Regions from separate parts of the Homo sapiens genome. Here regions 1, 2, 3 and 4 are each linked to region 5. The links are contacts of gene promoters, found by promoter capture Hi-C in blood cells and fetal thymus (Javierre and others, 2016). All regions are on one chromosome and are shown on one strand. Each heading gives the region's core, a stretch centred on a gene start or on the middle of the fragment in contact. The rest is flanking DNA. Distances are from core to core; before and after follow the strand shown.

Region 1 (4,836 bases), core at 1,420-3,919, 470 kb before region 5:
ATCTCTATTAATTCCCTCCTTCTGCTGTCTTTGGTTTATTTTGTTCTTTTTTTAGTTCTTTTTAGTTCTAGCTTTGACTGCTTCTTTCATTTAGTTTAGTTATTTGTTTTTTAAATATGAAAACATTTCAATCTCTCATTTTTTTTCCCTCCAAGTATAGACTTAGCCACATCTCATACATTTTTATGTGGATTGTTGTTGTTTATATTTTACTTTATAAATAATCTAATTTCAATTTTGGTTTCTTGTTTGACTGAAGCTATTTCATAAAGTAATTTTTAATTTCAGCAGGTTGGAGATTTTTGTTGGGTTTTTTTTGTTTATTCTTTTGCTATAAGGTCAGAGAATGTTACATTCTCTATACAATTTCTTCATTTAGACATTTATTAAAATTTTCCTTTGACCAAATGTATATGATGGATTTTTGTAAACATCCATGAATATTTGAAAAAAAAAGTGTGTTTTCTGTTTCAGGGATATAGAGTTGAATATATATCTAATTGTCATGCAGTCAACAAATATTTATTGCATGCACATGGGTTGTAGAGCACACAACAAATAAACAAGACAGACTGAGGCTTTCAGGGCTTCAATTCTAGTGAGGGCGGTGGAGAGGTAGTTAAGCGAATGATGACAAATACTAACCATAAATGTTGTGATAAGACAAGTGGAGTCCCCTGTAGAGCCCTTGAGGGATCCTGGAAGGGTTTCTTCAGGAAGAAATACTTAAGCTTAATGACATTTCAGACAATTTGCTTTACATATTTTAGCACTGTATTACTTAATGCATAAAGCTTCATGGCTATTATACCATCATTGTGAATACTAGCTAGCTCTTGTGTATGTAAATGTGAAATAAGCCTCTTTGTAATGTTTATATCTTGAATTCGATTGCTTAGTATTTCCAGTCATTTTTTTCACGGCTGCTTCTTTGAGTTCTCCCCCACCCCTCCCAACACACTACACATGCATGTATCTTTACATATCTTTTTTGCAAACCTCGGTATATTCAGTCTTTGGTGGGCATGGTATTTGATTCTAAGAGTGTTTGTTGTAAGCAGTATATTAGCAGAGGTTCTTTTTGGATTCAACTGAAATGACTTTAAATGCCCTTCATTCTCATTACTAGAAAAATGAGGGCTTGAGCCATTTTAGATGCATGTTTAAAGAAATAATTAATTTTATAGTAGCCAATGCACCACCTGCCATATACAGTTTAAAGCATTTTTTCATACATTTTATCATTGGATTCTTAAAGCACTCCTCTGAGGCAGGAACTATTGTCATGCCCATTCTGCAGGTGAAGAAACCGAGACACAGAAAAGCCAGGCAGCTCATCCTGGTCCCACAGCTTGGACCTGGCTCCAGAACACGTGTGTAAATGCTCCCATATGCCCCTCTCTGTTCTTGTTTATCGGCCATGAAGCTGAGGCCAAATCACTCAGGAAGTAGGAGCAACCAGGTAGGGTGGCCAAGAGTCTCAGTTTTCCCAGGGGAATCCTGGGTGAGGACTCAGTGCTGAAATGAGGTCACCTTAGATCCAGGGCCTCTGCTCCCCACTGCCCTTGGGCCTCCCACCTCCTCTGCTGCCTGTCAGCCCCTCAGAGTCCTGGCAAGACATCAGAGGTGTTGGGGGAGGACGTAATTGGAGGAAATAACTGGAATTTGAGCGACGTGCTCTCATTTATAGCACAGGGGGAACTGGTCAGTTCCCAGCTCCTAGGCTGAGGGTAGTGGGACAGGTGATGTGGCAGGATTTGGTGTTTTCAAAGATCACCCTGGCTACAACTCCAAGAGTGATCTGAGAGGGACAGGAGTAGTCACAGGGAGCCCCTTCTAGGCTGTGGCTGGGGAGCGGGGATGCACAAGGACGCCCCACTCATCTCCACATCCCCAGGGCAGAGCAGTTTCTGGCACGTAGCAATTGTCCAGCCAAGGTTTGTGGAGTGAGGGACACCTCACTGAGGTATGAAGCCCCCGTCTTCCCGAGCAGCAGCTCACGCAGGGCAAATGTGGCCTCACTGCGGCCTGAGGCTCAGTCAAAATCCCTATACCGGCTGCTCAAAGTGTGGTCCCCACAGTGGCAGCAGCGGCCCCACCTGGGAGCCTGCTAGAAATGGAGATCTCCATTAGAGAAATGCAAATCAAAACCCAGTGAGGTCCCACCTCATGCCAGTCAGCATGGTGATTATTAAAAAGTCAAGAAACAACAGATGCTGGAGGTTGCGGAGAAATAGCTTTTACACTGTTGGTGAGAAGGTAAATTAGCTCAACTATTGCAAAAGGCAGTGTGGCGATGCCTCAAAGATCTAGAACAGGAAATACCATTTGACCCAGCAATCCCATTATTGGGTATATACCCAAAGGAATATAAATCATTCTATTATAAAGATACATTCACACGTATGTTTACTGCAGCACTATTCGCAATAGCAAAGACATGGAATCAATCCAAATGATAAACTGGATAATGAAAATGTGGTACATACATGCCATAGAATACTATACAACCATAAAAAGGAATGAGATCATGTCCTTTGCAGGCACACGGATGAAGCTGGATGCCACTGTCCTCAGCACACTAACACAGGAACAGAAAACCAAATACTGCATGTTCTTACTCATAAGTGGGAGCTGATCAATGAGAACACGTGGACACAGGGAGGGGAACAACACACACTGGGGCCTGTTGGAAGGTAGGGTTTGGGGAGGGAGAGCATTAGAAAAAAATAGCTAATGCATGCGGGGCTTAATACCTAGGTGGTGGGTTGATAGGTGCGGCAAACCACCGTGGCACACGTTTACCTATGTAACAAACCTGCACATCCTGCACATGTACCCTGAAACTTAAAATAAAAATAAAAACTAACAAAAAAAAAAGAAAAAAAATGGAGACCATCTAGGTACCATCCAAACCTGCTGGATCAGAAGCTCTGGGGTTAGGCCTCGGCCATCCGTGTTTTAACAAGTCCTCTGGGCGAGTCCGTGATGTGGATGCAAGGTCAAGTTTGAGAGCCCCCACTAGCAAGGAATGATGATCATTTGGGTGCATCTGGCATTGGGATGCACATTTGAAGGCCGTGTACAAATAAACCATTTCTGAGTTGTCCGACAAATGGGCTCAGCCGTCACCTCCTGCTTGGAGGCGATTTTGCCAGAAAGGGGCAGCCAGAAAGGGGCGTTGACTCCACGTCTTACCTCCCCTGCTCTCCATGGGCCTGCTGAGCTCTGGCTTCCTCTCCATCCTCAATTCTAAAGAGAGGAGCCTGCTGTCCATGTACCCATGGTGGTGAGAGGGCCACCGTGTCCTTCTAACTTGCCCAGTACCATGTTGGCACAGCCTTGCCAGAACTTGAGCTCACCACCCCCACCCCCAGCTGCAGGCCCTTCCCCAGGCCGATGCTCACCTGTTCACCCGAGCAGGCTGCCCAGTGCCTCTTACTTCACCGAGTCTTCCTTTCACGGGAGAGGCAGGCAGTGGCACTCGCCACAACGCCACTCCCTCCTGGTACCTTAGCTTCATGGGCATCATTCCCTGATCCTGAGTGATTAATTTCCAGCAAATCCTGCTGTGAGCCAGGTCACCAAGGTGGTGACATTGCCTTTCTTTTGCCCAATCCTGAGGTCTCGGGGTGTTATGGAAACTGGAACTTAGCTTGACTCAGTTCACCTTTAGGCCTTTATTCAGCTCTTCCTGCATCCCCTGGAGAATGTTAGGTGCTTGGGAGAGGGTGGTTTATAAAAAGGCAGGAGTTAGTGTCCTCAGTTTGCTTCTAATCCAGTTGAGGTGTTTGTTTCCCAGGGTTGCTGGGTGACTTAAACAACAGAATTTATTCTCGCACGGTCCTGAAACCTGGAAGCTAGAAATCAAGGCATTGGCAGGGTCAATTCTCTCAAGCCTCAGAGGCAGAGTTTTCTCCGCACCTCTCTCCCAGTGGCTGGTGGCCAATCTCTGCATCTTCACATGGCCTTCTTCTCTCTGTGTCTGTGTTTCAAATCTCCCTTTTCTTATAAGAACACCCTAAATCCAAAGGACTTCTCCAAAGAGTTGTTCACATCTCCAAAAAGCCTACTTCCAAATCAGCTGTCATTCACAGCTGCAGGGGTTAGGATATGGATACGGCCTTTTGGGGCTGCTTTTCACAGTCCTGGGAGTCTGGGGGCTGCTTTTCACACTCCTGGGAGTTTGGGGGCTGTTTTTCACACTGCTGGGCTGCTTTTTACACTCTATGGAACAACGTTGGGACAGGCGAGGCTGGATGAGGCTGAAGCAGCTGTGCCCTGTTGAGAGAAGAGAGGACCATGGTTTTCCCTGATAGCCAGAGCTCCCCAAACACCCCCAGTGTGGGAACATCTCCCCCATCGGCAGGGAGTCCCCTACTCCTCAGAGCTGGTGCTAGCCCTGGTTGGGTATGTTCTGAGGATTCAGCGTCACGATCCCCAAACTCAGCGAATGATTAGAATCACAGGCAGAGAAATTCGAACCCAAAGATTGGATCAGTCCCTCTGGTGCAGCCCAGGGCTCGATCTTTCTCTGAAGCTTCCCAGCCAGCTTTGAGACTTCCTCTTTAGCATAAAATGGATGGTTCTATTAGATTAGAGTTGTCAGAGGTAAAACCCAGGATGCCAAGTTAAGCTTCAATTTCAGATCAACAATTTTTTTTTTAGTATAAGGATGTCCCAAATATTTAGTATACGTATGGCAGATACTCATACTAAAAATATTTGTTTATCTGAAATTTAAATGTAACTGGCATATTGTAGGTTTCTTCTTAAGTCAGATTTCTTGCATGTTTTCCCATGTGAATAGTCATTGACATGTTGAGCATTTATTGA
Region 2 (4,587 bases), core at 1,038-3,537, 430 kb before region 5:
TCATAGTTTATTGGCAAAATTCTTAGGATTTTATATATGCAAGATCATGTCATCTTCAAATAGAGGTGGCTTTACTTCTTTCCTTATAGATGCCTTTTATTTCATTTTTTTGGTCTAATTGCTTGCTAGAACCTCCAGTACAATTGCAATGGCAAAAGTAGACATCCTTGTCTTGTTCCTGATCTTATGGGGAAAGCACCCAGTCTTTCACGATTAAGTATCATATTAGCTTAGACTTTTTCATAGGTGCCCTTTATCCAGTTGAAGAAGTTTCCTACTATTTAAAGTGTGTTGAGTATTTTTGTCTTGACAAGTATTTTTGTCTTGACAGGAGTATTTTGTCTCAATTTTATCAGATACGTTTTCTGTATCTACTGAAAAGATCAGGTGATTTTCCCCCTTAATTCTATAATATGGTGTGTTACATTGTTTTTCATGGGTGGCCACTGAAATGTCTGCTCAGTTAGCTTACTGGGGAGCTCAAGAGTGGACAGACATTTCCTCAAATGCCTGGACTAATAAGTCTCCCAATTTTTGCCACAGTACTCTGTGTGCATGCTGGGCATACTTTCAATACTTGGTCAGGAAATTGGCAACTCTGCCCTAACTTTCACTTTCTACTTGCGTAGACCCTCAGGTCATACAGAATTGAGAGCACAGAGCCTTCTCAAGTCTCTCCTGAGCATGCCTACAGCCCTACACATGCACGGGGCTTTCTAGATTCTCAGGAATATGTTGGAACTTTGCAAAGCCCCTACGGACATCTTATTTGCCAGTTTTTTCTTTTTAAATTTTTTGGTTAGCCCACACTTTTCCCAACTGTTGCTCACCATCTTAGGCAGTCAGAAAGCTAAGCAGTTACTTTTAATTGTTTTCAGCAAATGCTTAGACTTTTCAAAGTGGGCAAAATTCAAGTAAGACCTACAGTTTACTTGCTATGGGTTGGCAAATACATGTCAGTTATTCATCATTACAGTATCTTACACAATAGTTTCACGACCCTAAGAATGCTCTTCATTCATTCCTACCCCCTACCTTTGAACCTCTGGCAACCACTGATCTTGGTCAGAAGGCAAGACAACCTTGCAAGTAGAGTTCTCCAGGGACCCACCAGACAAGTCAAGTCGTAACAGTTCTCTGGGAATGAGGTTTGAAGGGGCTACAATCTTGTTTTGTCCCCTACAGTAGCTGTCAGGCCACCGGTTTTTACCCTGATTGCAGGGCTGATTTCAACCTGATTTCAAGGCTAACTCAGAGCAGAAGAGAAGGGGATGGAAATACGGAAAGTTAAAATGCCATGAAGCTCCCTGTTCTTACTGAAATTCAGCCTTTCTTCCTGAATGCATGCAATCTAGATTGCTTCAAGCCTTTGGTTAATTTCCAGAATTCTGAAAAAGTTGATTCCGGAATTTTTGCCAGTTTTTGTCATGAGTTTCATGGAATAGAGAAGTTTCCATTCCTGCTGCTACTTCTATGATTTCCTTTTATTCATGGTAAATGAATCTGAATATCCATTTTTGATGATTATATCAAGCTTCCCTTTTAAATAAATGTATGTATGTTTTAAAAAAGTGAGTGGAGGAAGCCAGTCTGAAAAGGCTACATACTATGTGATTCTGACTCTATGACATTCTGGGAAGGCAAAACTATGGAGACAATAAAAATATTAGTGGTTGCCAGGGGTTCAAGGGTAGGGGGTAGGAATGAATGAGTGAACAGAGAGCATTTTTAGGGTGGTGAAACTATTCTGTAAGATACTGTAATGATGGATATATGACATGAATTTGTTAACCCATAGAACGGTACAACACAGAGTGAACCTTCAAGAAAACTGTAGGCATTAGTTAATGATAATGTATTAGTCTTGGTTCATCAAGTGTACCACATGTACCAAACAAATGCAAGATGTTAATAATAGGGAAAATGTGTGCAGGGAGGAGGTATATGAGAACTCTCTGTACTTTCTGTTCGGTTTTTCTGTAAATCTAAAACTGCTCTAAAAAATAAGACCTACTAAAACTTTTAAAAGGGTTGATTTTAGGAAATATATTTGGCATAGAATGATAGGTGGTGTAAGAGTATGGCAAAAATCATGTGGGAGGTATGTGGGTGACTGACATTTGGGAAACATGATGTAAGAAATATGTGTTAAGACTGGGGTCTCTGTAATGCAAGAGAATGGATAAAGGACTTTAACACATGAATCAAAACAAAGATTATTTAATATGCAACACCAAGTACAGCTGGTTGTGAGTGTTCTCTGCTTCCAAGGTTAAGAATGACTTGGGAAAATAACAGGAGACCAGAAAAAAAAAAAAAAGACAAACATCTAATACAAGGCATCCACTGGCCAACAGAAAAGCTCACCGGGAGTTGAGAGAGGAGACAGGTAAGACTTGTTGGAAAGACCCAGTGAAAAACCAAGGAGGCTGTGAAAAGCATGAATTGGACGATAAGAATCTTTTAGCTTCCCAAGAGGGCTCTAACCACCTGACATTGGCAGGCTTCATGCTTCTTGCCAGTACCATGGACAGCAGCCAGAAATAGCTTCATGACCCAGCAGGCCAAGGGTTTCTTGTCTTCATTCCAGGTTGTCTGGTTTTGTGTTAGTTTCTGCTTGGAACACAAGGATGAGCAAGGAGTTCATCTGCTAGTGGGCGACCTGACCCTCTCACAAGGAGCTAAACATGAGGCCAGGAAGCATGGGGTGCCCTGGATATAGCTTAGGAATGCTCAGTCCAAACTACCACTTGCCCAAGGTCACAGATCTAGGGACAGAGCATTGCCCCTCTTGGAGTCTCCCTTTCCTCTTCTGCAAAAAGAGTTTGATCCTCAACCAAGCCTGTGAGTGGCACAGAGTAGGTGAGGACAGATATTCAGTGAAAGGCCTTCCAAAGCATCCTTCCTTGGGAGCAGGGCAGTGACCATGCTTATCTTGTTTGGTGCTGTATTTTGCTTCCTAGCACAACATCTGGAACATAGGTGACACTTCAGCAAATGTTCAAGGGAGAAAGAAAGGAGGGGAAGGAGGAAAGCTTGCTCCTCTCCCTGTGCTCGGCCTGTAGTACAGGACCTGACACCCAGGACTCCACCGCCTCATCCCTCCTTCCTGCACAGCCGTGGCTCTCTTACAGACAACAGATGCGAGGCTTAGGAGGCAGCCTTATCTTGGAGATCGAGACCATCCTGGCTAACACGGTGAAACCCCATCTCTACTGAAAATACAAAAAAAAAAAAAAAATTAGCCAGGCGCGGTGGCTCACGCCTGTAATCCCAGCACTTTGGGAGGCTGAGGCGAGTGGATCATGAGGTCAGGAGATGGAGACCATCCCGGCTAACATGGTGAAACCCCGTCTCTACTAAAAATACAAAAAAAAAAAAAAGCCAGGCGTGTTGGCTGGCGCCTGTAGTCCCAGCTATTTGGGAGGCTGAGGCAGGAGAATGGCATGAACCCGGGAGGCGGGGCTTGCAGTGAGCCGAGATTGCACCACTCCACTCCAGCCTGGGCGACAGAGCAAGACTCTGTCTCAAAAAAAAAAAAAAAAAGGAGGCAGCCTTATCTTGCTATTTGACTCATCTTTGGCAGTGGATGGAGCTCACGAGGGGCTGTAGGAGGCTTATCCCCAGGGCAGGGCCCACTATGAGGCATGGAGGGGAAGGAACCTTGAGCATGTCCCTTCACTCCGTCTCTCAGCCCGGGAGCCTGCCTTTCAGAATCGGTTCAGAAGCATTGCTCCCACTGTATTTCTAATTGAAGACACCTGGTGAGGCCCAGTCCCTGGGGAGTCTGGTTTGCAGGAGGCCAGCCCGCCAGGCTTTTGTGATGAAGTCACAGACCCTTGATGTATTATTCAGCCTGGCTACCAATCAATGCCAGATGCCATCCATCCTCCGCTGGTTCCCCTGCAGGGCCCTCTGCTGTTTTGGAAGCAAGTGCTAAAATCTAAGGAGAAAGAGTCTGCCTTTGTCTCATCGCAGCATAAATACCTGGCCCCAGTTGCCGGGGAGTAATGTTTGTTCCACATTGACTGATTTTGTTATTTTCGGTTTTCTTGCTGGGTGTGTCATCTCTTGCCCTTTTAGCCTTGGTGAGGGAAGAAGCTAACTTTCTCAGCTGCAGGTAAAAGTAAGGCTAGCTCAGACTTTCAGCAAAGTTGTGTCTAGTTTTGTTCCCACATGTAGAAGAAAATGTGATCAAAATGGACATGCCGTGGAAAAAAAATCAGAAATGTCTCCCAGGTACTGGCCAAATACCTGCAGTGTACAAGGTGTGAGAGAAGTCATGTGTGGTGGGGGTTGGGCACTGCAGGAGGAGTCAAGGCCTGGATTCCCATCCTATCTCTGCCACCTCTGAGCTGGGGTGACTTTGGCCAAGTCATTCAGTTTCGTTTTATAGATTCAGCCACTGAGGCACGAAGTAAGATGAATCCTATCTGCCCATGGGGCTTTTGTGCAGACAAAATCCAGCAGCAGCTTCTGCAGCACGTGCTGGGTCAGGCTGGCTTGGCTCTGTGGTCTGGCGGCTATGTGACTCTGGGAAAGTGACTTCTCCCCTGTGTGTCTCAGTTTCCTCATCTATGAGACAAG
Region 3 (4,951 bases), core at 1,816-4,315, 500 kb before region 5:
CTGTCTTGATTACTGTAGCTTTAAGTCTTGAAGTCTGCTCTTCTTCTTTAGTGTCATGTTGGCTATTTTGGATCTTTTGTGCTTCTACATAAACTTTAGAGTCAGTTTCTTGATATTCAGAAAATAGCTTCCTGATTTTTAAATTAGTGTTACAATGAATCTGTAGGAAAAAATTCAGAAAAATTGACATCTTAACAATATTGAGTCTTTCAATCCATGAATATGGACTATCTGTCCATTTACTTAGGTGTTTGATTTTTAGTTCCACATACGGGACCTGTACATATTTTATTTGACTTATACCTAAGTATTCCACTTTTTTGGTGCTATTTAAAAAATTCTTCTGATCTTTTCATTTTTATTTATTTATTTTATTTTTAATTGACAAATTATAATTGTATACATTTATACGATACAATGTGGAATGATTAAATCAAGCTAATTAACATATTCATCACCTCACTTACCTATCACTTTTAAGGTAAGACATTCGAAGTCTACTTCCTAAGTTATAAGATATACATTATTATTGACAATAGTCATTCTGCTGTGCAGTAGATCTCAAAACTTATTCCTCCTGTCTAGCCGAAACTTTGTACCCTTTGATTAACAACTCCCCATTCCCTCCCTCCTCACCTCCCAGACTCTGGTAGCCATCATTCCACTCTCTATGAGTTTAACTTTTTAAAGATTTTTTGATGCTGTTGTAGATGGTAGTGTGTTTTTAATTACTAAAGTCTAACTCTTTATTGTTGGTGGCATATAGGAAAACAACTTTTATCTATTTATATTGTATCATGCAAACTTGATATCATCACTAATTAATTCTATGCATTTTTTGGTAAACTTTTTTTTTTTTTTTTTGAGGCAGAGTCTCGCTCTGTCACCAGGCTGGAGTGCAGTGGCACAATCTTGGCTCACTGCAACTTCCGACTCCCTGGTTCAAGCGATTCTCCTGCCTCAGCCTCCTGAGTGTGCTGGGATTACAGGCACATGCCACCACACCCAGCTAATTGTTGTATTTTTAGAACAGATGGGGTTTCACTATGTTGGCCAGGATGGTCTCAATCTCCTGACCTTGTGATCCACATGCATCGGCCTCCCAAAGTGCTGGGATTACAGGCGTGAGCCACTGCACCCAACCATGTTTTTGTATTTTCTACATAGACAATCATGTCATCCATGAACAAAGTCAGTTTTATTTTTTCCTTCCCAATCGGTATATCTTTTATTCCCTTTTCCTGTCTTATTGCTCTACCTAGGACTTCTGGCATAAAGGTGAATAAGAGTGGTGAGAGGGGACATCTCAGTCTTATTGCCAACCTTAAGGGAAAAGCATCTGTTTCTCCTCATTAAGTATAATATTAGGTGTAGGTTTTTGTAAATGTTCTTCTTCTTTCTTTCCTCCTCGTCCTCCTCGTCCTCCTTCTCCTCCTTCTTCTCTTTACTCTGCTTTCTTCTTCTTCTTTTCTGAGATAGGGTCTGACTCTATTGCCCAGCCTGGAGTACAGTGGCAATATCATAGCTCACTGTAACCTCAAGCTTCTGGTCTCAAAGTGACCTTCCTGCCTCAGCCTCCTGAGTAGCTAGGACTACAGGCCTGTGCTACCACACCCTGCTAACTGTTTTTTTACTTTTTGTAGAGATGGGGTCTTGCTATGTTGCTGAAGGTGGTCTTGAACTCCTTGCCTCAAGGGATCCTCTTGCCTCAGCCTCTCAAAGCAGTGGGATTACAGGCATGAGCCACCATGCCCAGCCTGTTTTTTTATTAAGTTGACAAAGTTTTCCTCTATTCTTAGTTTGCTGAGAAACTTTATCATGGACATTGGATATTGTCAAATGCTTTTCTGGATCATTTGATTATATTACATAATTGTTCCCCTTTTGCCAGTCATGGTGGTGGATTACATTAATTGATATTTGAGTGTTGAACCAGCCTTGAATATCTGGAATAAATTCCACTTGGACCTGGGGCATAATTTTAAAAATACATTGTTGGATTCAATTTTCTAATGTTTGTGCACAGTTTTTGGAGTTTTTATACATCAATAATTATGTCATTTGTGAACAAAGACACTTTTATTGAAGATTCTAATCTATATTCATCAGATAGATTGGTGTGCATCTTTACTTTTTGTAATATCTTTCTATGGTTTTGATGTCAGGGTAATTCTGGACTTATAGAATGAATCAAGAAGTGTTTTCTCTGATTTCTACTCTATTTTTTTAAATTGAAATTTTTTTTTTTTTTTTTTTTGGTACAGATGGGGTCTCCCTCTCTTACCCAGGCTGTCTCAAACTCCTGGCCTCAAGCAGTCCTCCCACCTTGGCTTTCCAAAGCACTGGGATTACGGGCATGATGATTCTGTTTTCTAAATGAGAGCATAGAGAATTTTTATTTTTTTTCCTTAAATGTTTGGTAAGACTCATCGGTAAAGTCATCTGCTCCTGGTGATTACATTTTAAGAAGGTTATTAACTATTGATTCAATTAATTAGATAGATATTGGGCTATTTAGCTGGTCTCCTTCTACTTGTGGGAATTTTGGTAGTCCATGTCTTTCCATCAATTGGTTATTTCATCTAAATGATTAAAATGAGGGGCACTGACATAGAGTTGTTTGTAGTATTCCTTTAACATCTTTTCAATGTCCGTGGGATCAGTAGTGATGACCCTTGTTTCATTTCTAATGTTGGCAATTTGTGTGTGTGTGTGTGTCTCTCTCTTTTTTCTTGATTAGCTAGGCTAGAAATCTATCAATTTTGTTCATCTTTTCAAAGAACCAGCTTTTGGTTTCACTGCTTTTCTCTGTTGCTTTTCTGTTTAAATTTTCATAGACTTTTGCCCTAATTTTTGTTATTTCTTTTCCTCTGCTTGCTTTAGGCCTAATTTGCTTAAATTCTTCCTATAATTTCCTATGATGTAAGCTTGGGTTATCAATTTCAAATCTTTTTTCTTTTCTAAAATCTACATGTAATGCTATAATTTTTCCTCTAAGCACTACCTTTGCTGCATCTCACAAATTTAGATAGGTTGTACTTTCATTTTCACTTAGTTCAAAATATTTCTTAATTTATCTTGAGACTTCTTTGACATGTGTTCCAAACATTTGGGGAATTTTCAAGCTATCTTTCTAGTATGGATTTGCAGTTTAATTTCATTGTGGAAGCATATTTTATATGATTTATGTTCTTTTAAGCTTTTTAAGGTGTGTTATGGGCAAGAAAATTTTCTATCTTGGTGCATGTTCCATGTAAGCTTGAGAAGAATGTGTATTTGGCTTTTGTTGGATGGAGTATTCTGTATATGTCAATCAGATCAAGTTGACTGATAGTGCTATTTATGTCAACTACATCATTATTGATTTTCCTCCTGCTTGAGCTATCAATAACTGACATGACAGTGTTGAAATCTCTAGCTATAACAGTGGATTTGTCTGTGACTACTTTCACTTCTATCTGTTTTTGACTCACGTATTTTGAAGCTCTGTTGCTAGTTGCATATTTAGGATTATCATATCTTCTTGGAGAATTGACCCCTTTATGATTATATAATATTCATTTTTAATCCCTGATAATTTTCCATCTTCTGAAGTCTACTTTGTCTAAAATTATTATAGCTGCTCTGGCTTTCTTGGTTTGCACGGTATATTTTTCTCTACTTCCTTACTCTTAACTTATCAGAGTCTTTATATTTAAACTTTGTTTCCGATAGACAATGTGTAGTTGAGTCTTGTTTTTTATTCATTCTGACAATCTCTGCCTTTTAATTGGTGTAATTAGACCATTCACATTTAAAGTGCTTATTGATACATACATTGATTAATATCAACCATGTTTGTAACTGCTTTCTATTTGTTGCCAGAAGCAATGTTTTCTGCCTCTCTGGTTTTAATTTAGCCTTTCATATGATTCCATTTTATCTCCTCACTTAGTGTATTAACTATGCTTCTTTAAAAACAGTTTTTAGTGGTTGCCGTAGAGTTTGCTATATACATTTTTAACTAATTTAAGTCCGTCTTAAAATAATACATTTACACTTCATGTGTAATGCAGCTATTTCATATCAGAATATTCCTAATTCCTTCCTCCTATCTCTTGTGGCATTGTTTTCATTCATTTCACTTATCCATATGCTATAATCCCCCAACACAATGTTATTATTTGCTATTGAATTGTGTCCCCTCAAATTCATATGTTGGAACCCTAACCGCCATTGTGATTGTGTTTTTAGGTAGGTAGGGCCTAGAAGGAGGCAATTCAGCTTAAATAAGGTCATAAAGATGGGTCTCTGATCTGATAGGACTGGTGTCCTTACAAGAAGAAATTCCAGAAAGCTCCTCTCCTTTCTCTCTCTCCACATGAATGCACCAAGGTCAGGCCATGTGAGGACAAGAAGCTTCCTGCTTCTGGCATTTCCTAGTAAGAATAAGAAGAGTCCTTACCAGAAAATGAGTCAGCTGGAACTTGATGCTGGGCTTTCAAGTCTCCAGAACTGCAAGAAAATAAATTTCTGTTGTTTAAGACACCCAGTTTGTGGTATTTTGTCATGGTAGCCTAGGCAGACTAAGATATTATTACTTTAAACAATCTGTTATTGTTTAGATTAATGAAGAATAAGAAAAATAAAAGATTTTATTTTCATTTGTCTTCTCTGATGATTTTTTTAAAAACGTATATCCAGCTTTCTGACATCTGTCATTTTTCTTCTGACTAAAGAAAATTTCTTGCAGAGCAGGTCTGAGAGCAACACATTCCCTCAGTTTTTATTTACAAAAGTCTTTATTTCTCCTTCACTTTTGAAGGATATTTTAGCTGGATATGGAAGTCTAAGTTGTCTTTTCCCCATTCAACACTTTAAATATTTCACTTGACTATTCTTCCTTGCATAGTTTCTGATGAGAAGTCTGCTTACAATTCTATCCTTCTTCCTCTAGAGGTAAGGTTTTCCC
Region 4 (4,499 bases), core at 1,230-3,729, 380 kb before region 5:
TCAAACGTTTATAAGCTGTGGGGTTATGAGGAAAAGGTTTTTAAGAGACTCAAAGAAATGAGGAAATGGTGCTTGGAACCACCCTCTCCTGCAGGGTTGGGACTGGCTGCATTTCCACTTCCCCTAGCGTTTTATTATGAAAATTTTCAAAAATACAGAAGCATTGAAGGAATCGGCGAGCACCCAGACACTCCCTGCCGAGGCCGCCCTGACAGTCGGCTGTGCACGTTGTCACTCCTCCATCCGCCTGTTCTCTGTGCCAGCTGCATCTGAAACGACACTCGCTGTCGGAGGTGGCTTTCCCTCCACAGGGAGGGCATTCCCACCGCCGTGGGGGTTTGGCCGTGACTTTTGAAGGATATTTTTATGCAGAATGTGGTATTTGAGAAGGAGTGGGCCAAGAAATGTGAGCCACTGTTCTTTTCATTTTCTTCCAGGCTCAGCGGCACTTTCTGCCTTTGCATAAAAGCCAGCACAATCCTGCCCGAGGTGGTCCACGCCCTGGTGGCTGCGCTAAGTGCTCCCCACACACCGTGTTCAGTCCTTACAGCTGACCTGAGCCCCAGGTATTATTATTATTCTCCCCATATTCCATGGGCAGAAATTGAACCTCAATGAGGTAAATGGACATTTCCGGGGCCCCCTGGCTTGGAAGTGGCAGGAGGAGGGCGTAGACCCCCAGTCCCAGCCACGTGCCACACCACCAGGACCAAGCCTCCAACTTCTCTCCACCTAGTCTGATGCCTGGCACACTGTAGTCACTCCACAAATGCCTGTTGAATGAACTGAGTTAAAAACCCCCTTTTACAGAATGTGTTGGAAAAACTGAGGCTTAGAAGTCAGATGGGTAGAGGGTAGGGGAACACCATCAACAGCCCCTGGTTGTCATCACTTCTTGTCTCTGACTGTTGTGGGGCAGGAAGTTTCCTTACTCTACAGGTCTCCCCCAGGCTATGATACTTCTTCCTGAGCCCTACCCGGAAGCCCTTCCAGCTGCCCCCATGGAAGACACACATTCTGCTTAAAGCTCCTCCAGGATGACAGGCTTGTGCTGATTTCTGTCCTGTTGAAAGGCCATGTGAAGAAGTGGAAAGAACCCAACCTCCCAGGGTCCTACAAACCTAGAGCTAAACCCAGCTTCCGGCCATGATTAGCTGTGTAAACTTGAGCAAGTTATTTTTATCTCAACTTCTCTGTGTGTAAAAAGATGGTGACCATACCTCCTGAAGAGAGCTGACGTGGGTTTAGAGACAGAGAGAGGAGGCGAGCAGCATGGAGTACCCAGCCGGTGCTCAAGGAGACGCTGTTCTCCAGGAACCTCTGCTAGGCTTGGGGCTGTGTCACGTGATTTTCACATGAAGGGATTAGAACTGGGCTGGGGCCTCTGTGATCTCTGACCATGAGGATAGTTGGATCCATATCTTCTGGGCAATGTGACAGAAGGGCCCCCTCCCCACACACAGCTCTGTAAGGTGCCTTTTACTCTGCTGGTTTGCCCAGGGCATGATTTACTTGGGCAATCCCACCAGAATTCAACAATGAATCATATATGATTCCTGTCTGTTTCTTTTGTATTGATCCCCCTTTCTGCCCTCAGGTTGCTGAAAGACTATAAAAGAGACATTTTTTCGCCCTCTGTTTTGGGACCAAGACTACACAGCAAAGGGCTTAGTGTGATTCAGTGCTACCAATGCAACCCATGCAAACTCAACCTAACCTAACCCACCCAGCCCAACCCTCCCCACCTCAAACCAACTTAACCCAACCCAACCTAATCCAACCCAGCCCTACCCAACTCAAACCAACTCAACTCTAGCCAACCCAACCCAACTCACCTCAACTTAAACCAAGTCAATTCAGCTCAACCCAACCCACTCCAACCAACCCACCCAAATCAAGCCAACCCAATTCTAGCCAGCCCAACCCAACTCACCTCAACTCAAACTAACTCAACTCAGCCCAACCCAGCTCAATGGCAACAGTTGTTCAATGGAAAGCACATGGGATTTGGAGTTAAATAGACCTAAGTTGAAATCTCAGCTTTTCCAGTTACAGGCTATGTGACCTTGGCCAAGTCACTTCACTTCTGAGTCTGCTTCCTCATCTTAAAACAGAGGGGAAAATCTTGTATTTGCCAGTATAGAAGATTCATTTTCTGTTTCTCAGATGCCTCCTTGTGTGACACCATCAAGTCCACCATAAACCAATGGATGGAATAACTCTCAGCAACTTGTCCCTTTCCTCCCCTGCTCCCCTTGGGTAAGAAACTGTGCAAGCTTCAAGAACAGCAGAAAGAAGAGGCATCTCCAAACCAGTCTTCCTGGCTACTTGGCAGTTCTCCAAGAAGACTTGGCTAGTCTGGGGTAGTAGATAATATCTTTCAGAAAAGCTTCCTGGTAAAATTGAGTGACTTATATACTAGCTAATCTTTAGACTGCAAATACAGTAATTTCTAGGCATTGTAGTGAGGATGGATAGTAATACGTGGCACTCACACTAAATACTGAGAAATCACTGCAGTCACCACTGCTACTGTTACCACCATTGAGATAGTAGAATAGAAGCTTTCTTCACCTGTCTTCACATCACTGAGCCACTAACCAGTGCTCTCCCCTGCCACTGTAAACATTCTGTGGCCGCCCACAGTGCTCTGAAAGTTGGAGGCTGGTCAGTGACACCTCAGTGAGCTCTCCCACATCTGCCTTCATTCAATGAGTCATTTGATTAACAAGAGTCTGTGGATTGTTCCCATGCCTTCTAATGCCAGTTATATTTGTAACTTTAATTTCAAAATTCAACTGAATTACTTACTATATAAACTAAAAAACTATGAGTGTGAAAGCAAGAGAATAGTTGCTTCTGTGAAAAATAAGTCAAATGCTGTGGAATGACTTGAAAAATATGAGTTCCTAAAAAATATGCTGAACAATGCAGTGAGGAAGAAACTACTGTAAAGATGAAAAAATACACAAACAATGAAGGATTCTGCATTCAGATATCTTTGTAAGTGCCCTTTAATTTTTACTTCACTTTAAAGGATTGGAAACTATAAATGCTGGTGACTGTAAAAATGGGTGTGGTTTATGTAAAAGATTACTATGCAACTCCAAACAGCAGAAATAAAAACACCTTGGTGTGCTCACAAAGATTAGTAAGTGGATGTACCAGTGGGTCATTAAATCATCAGTTTTAACTGCTTCGGGTTAGAGGGATTTGACGGCACTGGAACTGCCACATGGGCATTAAGGAAGCCACATGTGAGTCCTGGGGCTTGGTTCTGCAGTGGGCTTCAAGCACTGGTATGAGCCGAATGTGAACAAATCATGTGTAGTGGGAAAAAACACAAGCTTGGCATATAGACAGATGGACTCACGCCCTCCACTCCACTTGCTTGCTGTGTGACCTTGCGTGCACCATGTCATTTCTCAGAGCCATGATTTCTTCCTTGGCAAAAGGAGGTGCTAATATCTATCTCACAGGCTATAGAGGCCGAGGGAGGGTAGGGGAAGCCCTAAGCCAAATTTTGGCCCAGAAGAGGGACTGCAAATAGCACTCACATTCCCCTCTGCAGTGTGCTTCCAGTTCCATGCATCCAGTGTGAACCTGACTTTCTTATCTCCCAGGGATTTCTCAGCCAAGCATCAATGAATCTTGAATCTCAGCTGATGACACTCCTGGGCAAAATGGCTATGAAACTGGAAAGATGTCTATGAAACACACAGTCCCTCAAGCCAGAAAATGCACTTGACACATCTGTGTCCCTTGAGGAACCTGAAGTTTTGGTGAATCCAGAAAGCCATGGATGGCAGAACTGGTAAGAGGAAATGGGAAGTCCCAGTAAGAGAGAGGCTGAGGCCCTGCCTCCTGGCTGTGTGTAGAATTAAAGAAGCATTGCCTCCTGGCTTAATCAGGGATGGCAATCTCATTAGCCATTGTCTGACCTCTAATGGGCAGGCCCTGTGGGTGGGCTGTGTGGTCCAGGGTCATTAACAATGATGCACGTGGATTTATTGGAGAGACAACCATTTTCCTCCAGACCCAGTTGCAAACTTGGCTTCTAGGTCTTCATTGTTCTCGGCATATAAACAAGAAGGGCTGTGGCCCTTGGAAGGGCCCCTCCAGGAATCCTGAGAGAAAAATCTCTACCCAGCAGCAGATGTGGGCTTGTGACAGCTCCATTGTTGGTCGGGTGGAGGGGGGTTGCGGAGGAGAGGCCCACTCTGTGTGGCCAGGATTCAGGGGCCCCGAGAGAGGCCACTGGCTCTCACCCCAATCCTCTCTGCCTGTTGAAATACAAATAGCCTGCACTTGAGTGCTCACCTGTGCTACTCCATTCCACGCCGGACAATTGCGAGAGGGAGGCTCCATGAGGTTCCCATTTTATGGATGAACAAATGGAGGCTCAGAGAGGTTTAGAAACATCCCAAGATTGGTAAAGAGGTGAATCCAGGGCTGAACTCGTTCTGATGTGTTTCACGGCTGATATTTTAACAATGAAA
Region 5 (4,423 bases), core at 482-2,981:
CAGACGTCTCTAGCCCTCCCAGCCCTCTGCAGATGAGACACAGACCCCAAGTCCAGGGACTTCCAGGGCTGAGCTCTCAACCCCCTTGGCTGCCAAAAGCTGGGGGGCCTTGTACACAGCATTCACCTCTGTGGGCCTCAGTTCCTCCTTCTGTGATCTGGAAGAGAACAGTGGCTCTGAGTTTTTCTGAGGTCACTGGCCCTTTTGAGAATTATGTAAGCAACGGGTCCTCTCCCAGAAGCATTCCTGTGAGGTGACCACGGTGCCCGTGACTACGGATGGCTCTGGGGCTCTAGCCCGACAGCTGGGCTGTATCAGCCCCTTAGGTCCTCACCTCGACCCCATGCGCTAGGTCCTTTGATTAAGTCCTTTTACACATGGGGAAACTGAGGCACAGAGGGGTTAAATAATTTGTCCGAGGTCACACAGCCGGTAAATGGCGGAGCCAGGTTTGGACCCAAGCATGCTGACCCAGGCTTGCATTCCGAACCACTCGGCTGCTGACCCCAGGCATCTGACTCTGGAATTAATAAGCAAGTTTTATGATGAGGCGGGGAACTCCACGCCATCTGTGCACTAAGGGTGATTCACCAGTGACTTCTGGGTGTTATAGATCAGGAAACACAATTGGGGAATGGACAGGACAAGCTCTGTCATGGACTCTGTGTGGCCTTGGACAAGTGATCTTGCCTTTCTAGCCTCAGTTTCCCCCCTGAGAAGAAGACAGAACTGGCCCCTACCCTGTAGATGGGTTGGAGGAGCACTTGAGATTGGAAAACGCATAATAGGTGTTCATTAAAGAGGCTCACATGGATACACACAAGAACAATCTCAGGGCCTTCACGCACCTAAATGTTCTGCCCCTAGTGTGGGCAAGGGAAACAAACTGGAAGAAGACAAGAAAAGCCACTGAGAGCTGGGGACGGTGCCTCTGTAGCACCTGTGAGTCCCCGAGGAGGAAGTACTACAGGAACCAGCGGGGCCGGGCGTGGGGGCTTGCGGCTGGAATCCCAGCACTGTGGGAGGCCAAGGCAGGCAGATCGCTTGAGCCCAGGAGTTTGAGACCAGCCTGGGCAACACGATGAAACCCCATCTCTACAGAAAATACAAAAATTAGCCGGGCATGGTGGTCTAGGCCTGTGGTCCCAGCTACTAGGGAGGCTGAGAGGTGGGAGGATCGCTGGAGTCCGGAAGGTCGAGGCTGCCGTGAGCCGTGATCACGCCACTGCACTCCAGCCTGGATGACAGAAACCCTGTCTCAAAAACAAACAAAAACACAGAAACCAGATAACCAGCCCCAGCCCCTCACATCATCAGAGTGATGCCACGCCCTGGCATCCCCCTCCACGTGGTGCATGCTCTTTTTTTTATTTTTATTTTCTTCAGTTCTCTGATGCTGATTCAGAAAATAAAAATGTAGAGGTCCAGGTGGGCTGTGCCTGGAACGGGGAAGGTGAGGGAAGTCCTCTGTCTCAAAGGCCTCTTCGGAGGACGCTCTGGTCTTGCCAAGTTTACAGCTCCTCCCTGTCAACATCAAGTCAGGTCCCCAACTCTGTCTTGCTCATCCACCTGGCTTCCACTTTTTTTTTCTTTCAAAAGACGAACAGAGAAGTTTCATTTTCTTTTTCTCCTGAAACCGAATCTGGCCGGCCTGGCTAGGCATCTATTTCCGGGCTGTAAGCAGCTGACACCTGCCCAGTGGAAGCTGGCATCCCTCCCCTTGTGGGTTCAGAGCTGCAAGAAGCACCAGGCTCGGCCACTTCAGAAGCCCCAGCCTCGACCTAGCCCACCCTCTCAGGGCCACAGTGCAGAAGCCTGCACACCTGCCAAGTCTCTCCGACTCCTTGCAGCTGCTGTCAGCATGGCCCAGGCTCCTGCTGACCCGGGCAGAGAAGGTACAGTACTTCTTCCTTCCAAGGACCAGCGGTAGCTCCCGGGGTGAGATTTCTACTTCTCTTTCCTCCTGTTTCGCTTGGTCCAGATCATGATGACAATAGCAGTATCCTAAAGAATAGTAGACCAGCTGGGCGTGGTGGCTCACGCCTGTAATCCCAGCACTTTGGGAGGCGAGGTAGGTGGACTGTTTAAGCTCAGGAGTTTGACACTAGCCTGGCCAACATGGCGAAACCCCATCTCTACTAAAATTACAAAAATTAACCGGGCATGGTGGCGCATGCCTGTGATCCCAGCTACTCGGGATGCTGAGGCTGGAGAATCGCTTGAACCCGGGAGGTGGAAGTTGTAGTGAGCTGAGATGTCGCCATTGCACTCCAGACTGGGTGACAGAGTGAGATTCCATCTCAGAAAAAAAAAAAAAAAATAGAAAGGGACAGCATAGCCATCCCCCTTTGACAGCTGACTGTGCCCCAGGCACCTCGAAACATGCTTTCCAAGCATTTCCTGATGGCCTGCAGGGACAAGTGCCATGTCATTCCCATTTTATAGATAACTGAGGCCCTGAGAGGTGAAATGACACTCTCAGGGTAACACAGCTGGCGAACGCTGGTGTTAGCGTCTGAACACCCATGTCACAGTCATATCGAGAACAAAGCGGTTTGCTTTGATGAGATACATGTGTGCCTTTGTTCCCCCTTGTTGCATCCTTTCCTCAACTAACATTTCATTCATTTTATTCCTGGAAGAGTTGCAATGAAAGCCAATAGTGTATCGAGTAATTGCTGTTCTCTAGGGTCTCCACTAAGCGCTGTGGACTGTAGGTGAAGTGTGGTTTTGCGGTTTGGGGGATGTGTTTGTTTTGTTTTTAATCCTCACCACAATCTTTGAAGTAGTTATTACTGTCTCCATTTCACAGAAGAGGAACCTGAAGCCGGAGGGGAGGTCACACAGCTAGTAGTTGGCAGGGCTAGGAGCTCAAACCCAGGAAATCAGCCATCAGAATTTTAAAAAACCAACACAGAGTGTGCCCCGGGAGGGCTAATGTCAGGGTGTGGCCCAGGAGCCGGGCTGACCGCGGAGGTCCTGTGGAGCTTCCTCTTCGGGGACTCACGGGTGCTGACGCAGGTTCCGGACTCAGCCCTCGCTGGCTTTTCTTGTCTTCCTCCCCAGTTGATTTTCCTTTTGTGACCAAATTGTTGCCTACACCTGCTCCATTTTACAATTTCCCATTTTCAGACACAGTAGCCTGGGACTCAGCAGTCGAGGCCAGCCCAGGGCCAGTGCTTGTCCTGCATCCACACCTCTGACCCCCATCTCCTCTGGGGTGTGTGGAGCCGAGGCAGTGGCTCCCTAAGGTCAGCCTTCCAGAATCAAAACTGCGGCCAGGCGCAGTGGCTCACGCCTGCAATCCCAGCACTTTGGGAGGCTGAGTTGCGGGGATCACCCAAGGTCAGGAGTTTGACACCAGCCTGGCCAAAAAGGGAAACCCTGTCTCTACTAAAAATACAAAAATCAGCCGGGTGTAGTGGTGCGTGCCTGTAATCTCAGCTACTTGAGAGACTGAGGCAAGAGAATTGCTTGAACCCAGGAGGTGGAGGTTGCAGTGAGCCGAGATCACACCACTGCAGCCGCAGACCAGGCAACAAGAACGAAATTCCATCTCAAAACCAAAAAACAAAAAACTCTGCGAGACAAGGTGAAGCCAGGTGTGAAGTCAGGTGCATGGAGGTGCTGCTGGCTGCCGGTGGGGGAGTTTGGTGGGCGCAGGAGTGGGAATTCCCAGGTCTTCTAATTGGTCTTCACCTGCACACGGCAAGCCGGTCAGCGTTGTAACCATCAGGGTGAGGCACAAACTGATTCTTCCCTCCCCTACAAGTGCTGTGACCAAGGAACCCTGGGCAAACCTGGAGAATCCTCTGAACAGGAAAGAAAGCCCAGATGACAAAGGACTGAGTCACTGTCCTGGAAGGGGAACTCAGGTCTTTCCAAGAAGGGCTCTCCCATGCACTGCCCTCAGGTTCCTTGAAGCAGAAGCTTCCTGGTGACAGGTGGGGCCCCCGCCCACAGTGGCTCTCCCAGGCTGCTGGCTGCCAGGTGCTGCCCGTAACCTGCGTCTGCCCCAGCCTCATCTCTGGGCAGAGCAGCTGGCTTTGATCTTTTAATCATTGTGTGAGCTAATGGTTTTGATTTTTAAGAGCTGCCTCAGGAGGAGCAGGGGCCATTTGGAGAATTCCTCCTTGAACCTCTTGGGGTCCTGCTTAGTCCTCATTAAACTCAGGCCAGGAAACAGCAGCACATTGCCAACTGGCCAAGGAGAAGCTACCCGGGCCCTGCCCAGGGTCTATTGGGTAAACGTCTGTCCCTAGAGACAGACACTCACTCATTCAGTCCTTTTTTTTTTTTTTTCCAGAGATGGGGTCTTGTCCAGGCTGGAGTGCAGTGGTGCATTCATAGCTCACTGCAACTGCTACCTCCTAGATTCAAGCGATCCTCCCACTTTTAGCCTCTTAAGCAGCTGGGACTACAG

What was found. Contacts are between HindIII fragments. The CHiCAGO score rates a contact against its expected background, and 5 or more counts as called.
Region 1: a contact is called between a fragment that was not itself captured here and the fragment with the promoter of ZBP1 in region 5, in 4 of 17 cell types (endothelial precursors, megakaryocytes, M1 macrophages and 1 more). The highest score is 12.3, in endothelial precursors.
Region 2: a fragment that was not itself captured here is called in contact with the fragment with the promoter of ZBP1 in region 5 in 2 of 17 cell types (M2 macrophages and endothelial precursors); the score reaches 5.1 in M2 macrophages.
Region 3: a fragment that was not itself captured here is called in contact with the fragment with the promoter of ZBP1 in region 5 in 1 of 17 cell types (endothelial precursors); the score reaches 8.7 in endothelial precursors.
Region 4: a contact is called between a fragment that was not itself captured here and the fragment with the promoter of ZBP1 in region 5, in 1 of 17 cell types (M1 macrophages). The highest score is 6.0, in M1 macrophages.

The regions. Positions count from the first base shown.
Region 1 is chr20:58,091,506-58,096,341 of GRCh38, reverse strand. No RefSeq gene overlaps it. Among named protein-coding and RNA genes, the nearest start is that of CIMIP1, 57 kb to the left of the region's middle. The HindIII fragment of the contact is 3,746 bases long and covers 797-4,542 here.
Region 2 is chr20:58,046,249-58,050,835 of GRCh38, reverse strand. No RefSeq gene overlaps it. Among named protein-coding and RNA genes, the nearest start is that of LINC01742, 45 kb to the right of the region's middle. RefSeq lists a silencer at 2,409-2,703. The HindIII fragment of the contact is 1,501 bases long and covers 1,537-3,037 here.
Region 3 is chr20:58,117,610-58,122,560 of GRCh38, reverse strand. No RefSeq gene overlaps it. Among named protein-coding and RNA genes, the nearest start is that of CIMIP1, 31 kb to the left of the region's middle. The HindIII fragment of the contact is 272 bases long and covers 2,930-3,201 here.
Region 4 is chr20:57,995,297-57,999,795 of GRCh38, reverse strand. LOC105372693 (a long non-coding RNA gene) reads left to right here and starts at 234. Exons shown (of 6, transcript XR_007067678.1): 1 at 234-566; 2 at 3,624-3,814. The HindIII fragment of the contact is 175 bases long and covers 2,392-2,566 here.
Region 5 is chr20:57,617,734-57,622,156 of GRCh38, reverse strand. It overlaps ZBP1 (Z-DNA binding protein 1), which reads left to right and starts at 1,731. Exons shown (of 8, transcript NM_030776.3): 1 at 1,731-1,895. The coding sequence starts at 1,862. RefSeq lists enhancers at 1,482-1,771, 1,902-1,951, 3,032-3,141, 3,319-4,178. The HindIII fragment of the contact is 9,795 bases long and covers 1-3,932 here.